2 separate regions of the Homo sapiens genome follow, and region 2 is linked to region 1. Evidence: promoter capture Hi-C in 16 types of primary human blood cells and fetal thymus (Javierre and others, 2016). All regions are on one chromosome and are shown on one strand. Each heading gives the region's core, a stretch centred on a gene start or on the middle of the fragment in contact. The rest is flanking DNA. Distances are from core to core; before and after follow the strand shown.

Evidence for each region. The method cuts DNA at HindIII sites, captures the fragments that hold promoters and counts their contacts. A CHiCAGO score of 5 or more calls a contact.
Region 2: the fragment with the promoter of DCTN3 here is called in contact with the fragment with the promoter of UBAP1 in region 1 in 1 of 17 cell types (monocytes); the score reaches 6.2 in monocytes.

What each region holds. Positions count from the first base shown.
Region 1 is chr9:34,176,694-34,180,765 of GRCh38, reverse strand. It overlaps UBAP1 (ubiquitin associated protein 1), which reads right to left and starts at 1,723. Exons shown (of 7, transcript NM_016525.5): 1 at 1,526-1,723. RefSeq lists enhancers at 1-758, 759-1,715, 1,481-1,910, 1,716-2,674. The HindIII fragment of the contact is 10,457 bases long and covers 1-4,072 here.
Region 2 is chr9:34,618,606-34,622,677 of GRCh38, reverse strand. DCTN3 (dynactin subunit 3) reads left to right here and starts at 2,183. Exons shown (of 7, transcript NM_007234.5): 1 at 2,183-2,309; 2 at 3,918-4,002. The coding sequence starts at 2,214. ARID3C (AT-rich interaction domain 3C) reads left to right here. Exons shown (of 8, transcript NM_001017363.4): 6 at 149-331; 7 at 569-658; 8 at 1,120-1,629. The coding sequence ends at 1,220. The HindIII fragment of the contact is 4,259 bases long and covers 1-4,072 here.

The sequences.
Region 1 (4,072 bases), core at 474-2,973:
AGTAAAGTTATCTGCTGTGCAATGACAGCGATGGTCACTCACTAAAGAAACATTAAGTTTAGCATTTCTGTAATTATAATGACTCTTATTATTGCAACACACAGTAGCTATTTAATAAACACCATGAATTAATAGAACTAGAAACAAAAATTTAATAAAATTTCACTTATAGTAAGTTAATGCGGACAATGTAATTCTTTTAAGACTTGACACATTTCACATTCTTTGCCATAATACGTAAACTTTTTTTTTTTTTTTGAGTCGGAGTCTCGCTCTGTTGCCCAGGCTGGAGTGCAATGCAGCGATCTAGGCTCACTGCTACCTCCGCCTCCCAGGTTCAAGCCATTCTCCTGCCTCGGCCACCCGAGTAGCTGGGATTACAGGCGCCTGCCACCACGCCCGGCTGGCTTTTTAGTAGAGAAAGGGTTTCAACATGTTGGTCAGGCTGGTCTTGAACTCTTGACCTCGTGATCCGCCCGCCTCGGCCTCCCAAAGTGCTGGGATTTCAGACGTGAGCCACAGCGCCCGGCCAATACGGAAACTTTTAGTTTAGGTTGGGACATTAACTAGAAAGAACTATATATCACTAAAGACTAAGTATCTTGTTTTTCCCACCATCAAATCTGACAAAATTAAAAAGGAAAACATCCATCATATCTATTCAAATTCTCAAATGCTAATAACTGAAGAGACAAAGCACTAACGAGTAAAGTTAGAACAGAATATACGTAATACTTAACTAAATTACCAAATCTGGTTTCGCAACACTGCATGGTGACTAAAAGTAACAATTTTTTTTTCAGTTTAACATAAAACGTATTTTTATGCCCAACCATACTTTTAAGACGCTAGTCTGGAAACAATTACATTTGGCAACAAAGGTCAAAGATCACTGATATAGCTCAAATAAATGAACCTGACGTTCCACAAGAAAGACTGGGGCGGTTCCTGAGGCCCAGGTGGACTGTATAGGTAAGCCTCCACCCAAGAAACAAAAAAGGCGGATAAACATACCTGGAGAAGACCAGACAAGGCCAAAGATATCCCCAAAGATCACTCACCTCTGGTCTAGTCTCCACCTTTTCTCCCCAATCTCATTGCCTCAGGGAGAACTAAATCTACACCGCACGTCCCCAGCTCACCCTCAACTCCCCACCACTCACCTTCTTTACTAAAATCTGGGTCCCCCTCCCTGACATCCTCTAGTTCCCACCGAGTTCTCAGTCCAGCCCGATAGATGTCTACTATGCCTGTCTTCCAGTAGGGTATTAGTCTCCTTAATCCGAACTCATTTTTCCGCATCCCACTTCCCCTCCGCCCCTTCAACTCCGGTCCCCTCACTCCGACCCTTCTCCCAGAATCCTCCCCGAATCGCGGATCTCCGGCCACTTTTCCCTCCCACCTCCTAGCTCCGGCGCCCTTCACCTCGCTCGGCCCCCCATCCCGTTTCCCAGTCTCCCAGTACCAGCCCCCCTCCCCCAACTCCGCCCCTCTTCCCCCTCCCCCAGAGGGAGGCCCCCCTCACCTGAATGCCGCTGCTGCCGCCGTCTCAGAAGCCGAAAGGTGCTGGCACCGGCCGGCCTCCCAGGCTCGGTCCCCGCTGAGCTCCCGACAGCCCCTAGGGAGAGCGAACGCCACCACCTCCAACTCTGCCCGCTCCGGGCCAGGCCGTCACCGTAGCCACCGCCAGTGCCGCAGCCGCCATGTTGAAGTCCTACTTCCCTCCTCCTTCCCCTCACCGCCCCACTCATTTGGGCGTCTGACGTCATGGCGCCGCGCTCCACACGCCCGGACCAATGGGAGGAGCCGACGGTGACATAACTAATCTCTCTTCTAGCGAGGAGCTACTCCGGCAACATGGAGCATTGCAATTGGAATGAGTAAACCCTGCTGACCTAAGGGGGAAGGAGGAAAGGAGGGGGTCACTAAGAGTGTAAGACTTGGGTTTGGCGAGGCGGCCAAAGCGGGAAACCCAAGAGCCTTGAATCGCGAAGGTATGCCCAAAGAGTTAGCAGCGAGTCCTATTTGGGAATTAAGACATCTAGCTTCTGTTCAGGGTCAGCGACCTGGTACAACTCATACCCTTTCTGGACCTCACTTTTCCCATGTATAGAGGACTAAGTTGAAAGGTGACTTCTAGGCCGGGCGCAGTGGCTCACGCCTGTAACTCCAGCACTTTGAGAGGCCGAGGCAGGAGGGTCGCTTGAGCCCGGGAGGTCGAGGCTGCGGTAGCCGTGATCGCGCCACTGCACTCCAGGTGGGCAACGGAACGCGACTCTGTATCAAAAGAAAAAAAAACAAAGGTGACCTCTAAGTCTTCCTTCAATTCTGACATTCTATGGGTTTAAACCAGGTAATCCTATCCCAAGCCTTCACTGCCTTCTGTGGGGGTTTTTGTTGTTGTTGTTGTTTCTGTTTGGGGTGTTTTTTGTTTTTTTGAGACAGGGTCTCGCTCTGTCGCCTAGGCTGGAGTGCAGTGGCGCGATGTTGGCGCACTGCAACCCTGCAACCTCCACCTGTCGGGCTCAAGTGATCCTCCCACCTCAGCCTTCTGAGTAGCTTGGACTATAGCCACATGCCAACACGCCCGGATAATTTTTATTATTTTATATATATATATGGAGAGACGGGGTCTCACCATGTTGCCCAGGCTGGTGGTAAACTTCTGGGCTCAAGCCTCAGTCTCCCAAATTGCTGGGATTGTAGGCGTGAGCCATGGCGCTGGCCTTCTGTGTCTTTCTATGTCTGCTGGAATTAGGAGACAGAGAATTATTAATTGAATAAGATGACTCTTGAGCCCAGGAGTTCAAGACCAATTTAAGCAACATGAGACCCCCGTCTCTACAAAAAGTTTGGTAAAAATTAGGTGAGCCTGGGCAACATAGTGAGACCTTGTCTCTACAAAAACTCAAATTATCTGGGCGTGGTGGCATGTGCCTGTGGTCCTAACTATTCAGGAGGCTGAGATAGGAGGATCACTTGAGCCTGAGAGGTCGAGGCTACAGTGAGCCAGGATTGTGCTGGTGTACTCCAAACATGGGTGACAGAGCAAGATCTTGTCGCAATAAAATAAAATAAAATAAAATGACTAGGCACGATGGCTAACGCCTGTAATCCCAGCACTTTGGGAGGCCAAGATGGTCAGATCTCTTGAGCTCAGGAGTTTGAGACCAGCCTGGGCAACGTGGAGAATCTTCATCTCTAACAACAACAAAAAACAGTTGGGCATGGTGGTACACGACTGTAGTCCCAGCTATTGGGTTCTGCAAATGAGACCCTGTCTAAAAATAAAATAAAATTGTAAAAAATTAGCCAGACATGGTTGTACACATCTGTGGTCCCAGCTAGTCAGGAGGCTGAGGTGAGAAAATGGCCTCAGCCTGGGAGGTTAAGGCTGCTGTGAGCAATGATCATGCCATTGCACTCTAGCCTGGGCAACAGAGCAAGACTCTGTCTCAAAAAAAAAAAAAAAAAAAAAACAAGGTCGGGTGTGGTGGCTCACGCCTGTAATCCCAGAACTCTGGGAGGCTGAGGCAGGCAGATCATCTGAGGTCAGGAGTTTAAGACCAGCCTACCCAACATGGTGAAACCCCATCTCTACTAAAAATACAAAATAAAAATTAGCTAGGTGGGCGCCTGTAATCCCAGCTATGTGGGAGGCTGAGGCATGAGAATCGCTTGAACCCAAGAGGAGGAGGTTACAGTGAGCGAGATCAAGCCACTGCACTCCAGCCTGGGTGACAAAGCCAGACCCTGTCTCAAAAAAAAAAAAAAAAAAAAAAGTCTGGGCGCAGTGGCTCATGCCTATAATCCCAGGACTTTGGGAGGCCAAGGCAGGTGGATAACCTGAGGTGAGGAGTTCGAGAGCAGCCTGGCCAACATGGTGAAACCCCATCTCTACTAAAAATTCAAAAATTAGCTGGGCGTGATGGTGGCAGCTGTAATCCTAGCTATTCAAGAGGCTGAGGCAGAAGAATCACTTGAACCTGGGAGGTGGAGGTTGCAGTGAGGTGAGGTTGCGCCACGTCACTCCAGCCTAGGTGACAGAGCAACACTCTGTCTCAGAAAAAAA
Region 2 (4,072 bases), core at 934-3,433, 440 kb before region 1:
TGAGGCTCTGGATGGGAAGATAGATCGAATGAAGGATGAGAGATTGGTACATGAGCTTGAGTTACCTCTTTTGGTCCCAGGCCTGGGGGAGAACCAATGCAGAGATGGGTTGGTTTGGCCAGGGGAGCTGAATAACCTGTTCTTCTAGAGGAGAGTGGAATTCCAAACCCTTGTCTGGCACTGCCTGTGGGCCTGGCACTGGGACCTACACGGGAGAAATTGGCACCAGAGGAGCCCCCAGAGAAGAGAGCTGTGCTGATGGGGCCTATGGACCCACCTCGACCTTGCATGCCCCCCAGTTTCCTGCCCCGTGGCAAGGTTCCCCTGAGGGGTGAGGAGGGGCTTGTTGTGAGGGGGCTTCGGGACTGTACACTGAGGGAGGATTGACCCATCACCTGATAGGTGTTAGAGACGGGGCAGACAGATTCCTCTGTAGACAACTGTGTGAGTATAGGTGTGGGGCTGAAGTGGAATGGGGGCTGTCTACGGGGATGGAGGGGGGAAATTCTATTAATAAGTCAGAAGTCTGATTCTCCAAAATGTGATTCCTCTGCCCCCTCCTGGACAGAAGAGCGGCTGGATGGGCCTCTTAATCTGGCAGGCAGTGGCATCAGCAGTATCAACATGGCCCTAGAGATCAACGGGGTGGTCTACACTGGTATGGGTACTGCAGGCTGTCTACACTGGCATGGGGTCAGGGGTATTTAGGCTGGCATGGGGATTTTAGACTTCCTCTACTAGCATGAAGTTCAGGGATATCTAAACTTGCATGAGTAACATGGAGTTCAGGGGATTGCTAGACTGGCATGGGTTAAAGGGGGTGTCTACATGGCATGGGATCCAAGGCATGACCTCTCTGGCATGAGTACCAGGGGATGTCTGCCTTGTCTTGGGCCTATGTATCAGCATAAATATTCCTTGTTTACCTGTTTGAGGTATCTACATTAGCAATGGAGTCTCTTACTGACCCAAGGAGCTTGTCCTCATTGGTTTGTGGCAGGGGTACGTGTGTAGTGTTCTAGCAACCAGAACACTTACTTTTGTTCCCCTCTTCTGTTTCCATACCCTACCCCCTCCTGCTTGTTTTTGCCCTCTACCATCTCCTCACCCCTTTGCCAGGTGTCCTCTTTGCCCGCCGCCAGCCTGTGCCAGCTTCCCAGGGTCCAACCAACCCTGCACCCCCACCCTCCACAGGGCCCCCTTCCAGCATCTTGCCCTGAGAGGTCCTACTTGAAACTAAGAGTCCCAGCCCCATTGCTGAGGGGGGAGGAGACCCCCTGCTTTGATTCTTTCTGGCTGCCCACTCTGGGACCCAGCCCTGGGAGGGGACGACACCTCCCATGCCATGTGGACTTAAAACCAAAGTTTCTTTTGATGTTACACCTACCTCATTGTAAAGGGAGGGCACCTCCTCCCTGGCCAATTCCAGCAGCACCTACCAAAGGGTTCTTCCTCCAGTAACCCCATCATCTCCTCATGTGTTCCCTCTGTCAATGTCATCTCTAGGACCCTACCCTTTTGAGTCAGCCCTGCTTCTCTTCAGGAGCCAAGTGAAAGGTTGGGTTGGGGTACTGTGAAAGAGACATCCCTCAGGTCACATCTAGACAATAAAGCTGCGGTCCCTCCCTCTCTGATGCCTCCTTTCTTGTTTGGGTATGGGAGGTGGGGAGGAATGATGTGGAACATAGGCTGCCTTGGGCCAGGGGCTTTCAGAGGTTAAGGCAGAATAGCAAAGTTTCGTGAGAATAGAAGAGCTCCGTCTCTTGAATCAGACAGCCTGAGTTCAAGTCCTGTTTCTGTCCCTATAGTGCTGGGTGGCCTTGGGCAAGTTACTTAATCAACTGAACCTTAGAAGACTCCAAAAGTTTATGGTAACTCACGGAGCCTCCTAATGATGTATCTATGGGAATGGACCTATCCTGGAACACGTGCAAACTCAGGGAATGGCGTGGGGAAAGCTCTTTGGTACCCGAAAAGCAAAGGTTATCTTGACAACCAGGCACTGGAAGCCAGGGGAGGGATGGGACAGAGCCGTTGCCAAGGTAATCAGCTTTTGACAGCTCCGAGGAGTAACTTCCGGCACTGAAGGGCTGAATCATGGCGTCACTTCCTGCATAAAGGGCCGCTCGTGCACTCGGATTGGCTAGCCTTCTTATTTGGACTGACGTCCCGCCCTCTGGCTGTTTCCTGGCCGAGGTGGGTCGGTAGTAGCGATGGCGGGTCTGACTGACTTGCAGCGGCTACAGGCCCGAGTGGAAGAGCTGGAGCGCTGGGTGTACGGGCCGGGCGGGGCGCGCGGCTCACGGAAGGTGAGTAGTCTGGTCCGGTAGTCCCTTTCTGGAGCAGAGCAAGAGCGGTCCACTGTCCTGGCCCTCGGGATGCAACCGCTCCAGTCCTGTTCTCCGCAGCCCGGCCTTTGAAATAACAAAGGTCCGGGACCTCCCAGAGCTGATTGGACCATCGGGGTCCACTGTCATAGGGGGCTCTGCGGGTGGTTAAGCCAGCCTGAGAGTGGGCTCCGTACCTACTGTAGCTGAGACTCCGCCCTTGCCCTCGCGAGCTATAGTTGGGGAGACCTGACACGAGAAGCTGACTAATGAGAGTTTCAATAAGAGCTGAAGTCCACGATAGGAAGGCCCGTCATAGAGCCCTGCATAATTAATTGCTAAATGAATTGTGCAGGAAGAGGTCCATGGGACCCCTGGGGAGGCAGAGCAGAGGTGGATAAGGAAAACGCCAAAGGGTGAGAAGTGAGGTCTGAAAGGACCAGGATTAGGAAGGGAAGAGACTGGGTACTGGGTATTCAGATGTGGACTAGCACTGCTTTATACCAGTGACAGAATTTTGACAACTACGAAGCTCAGGTGCCCTCTCCTCCCCTTTCTACTATGGGAAGATCTTTTATTGAAGAACTTCTGATGGCGTGTCAGGCATGTCCTGGAGCTAAGTGCGTCCAAGGTAATGATGTCTGTTTGTACACTAAATGAGGAATTAGTTGTCACTAGCAGACTGTGCTCCCATTTCAGAACTAACTTCTCAAACATTCTCTTCCTTTGGGATCTATGACGCTGACCCTCCTGGTTTTCCTTCTACCTCTTACGGCTGCTTCTCAGTGTTATTTGCCTCCCCCCTGGCATTCCTCATCCTCTACCCTAAAAACTGGGTGAGTGCAGTCACTTCCTTAGTCTCCTCCTCTATTTGACCCTTTAATATTGGGATTCTTTACATTCTACCCCTAAACTTTAGGTAGGCTCACTCGCTTCCATGGTGTCAATTACTATTTACATGTCAATATGTCTCAAATGTATATCTCTGGTCCAGATTTCTGTTCTGAGAACCAGACTTTTATGTCTAGTTGTCTACTGGACTTTTCCACTTGGATATCCAATAGTCATTTCAAACTCAATCTGTATGCCCTTAACTGTACTCTTTCTCTCCCCTAACCTGATTCTCTTCTGTATTCCCTAATTCAGTGATTGCACCATCATTGGGATCCCAGTTGTTTGGACTCTTCCATCTCCCACACCAAATTTGATGTGGAGGGGATAGGGCTAGAGGTAGGCCAGCCAATCTAGAGGTCATGAAGGCTTGAATGAGGATGCTTGTGTTTCTCATGCCCAAACCCAGGACTTAGGAACCAGAAAATATATTGTGTATACTCTATATTCCATAGACTCTAAAATAGTTCGTTATCTTCCCCATCAGACTTGAAACTCCCCAAGGAGTACATGATTCTCTCTCTCCACTTTAAGGATTCCTGGAAGGTGGGGCTGCATCTCCTTTAATATTAGAGAAGGGAGGCCAACCTAGATTACTGGGATTCAGGTTTGAGAGTCTGGGAGAATGAGGGTTCTTTAACTTTTCCAAGCCTTGAGCCAGGTAGTATATCTTGGAATTAACCACCACTTCCCTTACAGGTGGCTGACGGCCTGGTCAAGGTGCAGGTGGCTTTGGGGAACATTTCCAGCAAGAGGGAGAGGGTGAAGATTCTCTACAAAAAGAGTAAGTGCTTCCATGATGTGCCTGCCTGCCCGACATCCCACCCCTCAGCTTCCTGGTACCTGGCCCTAGC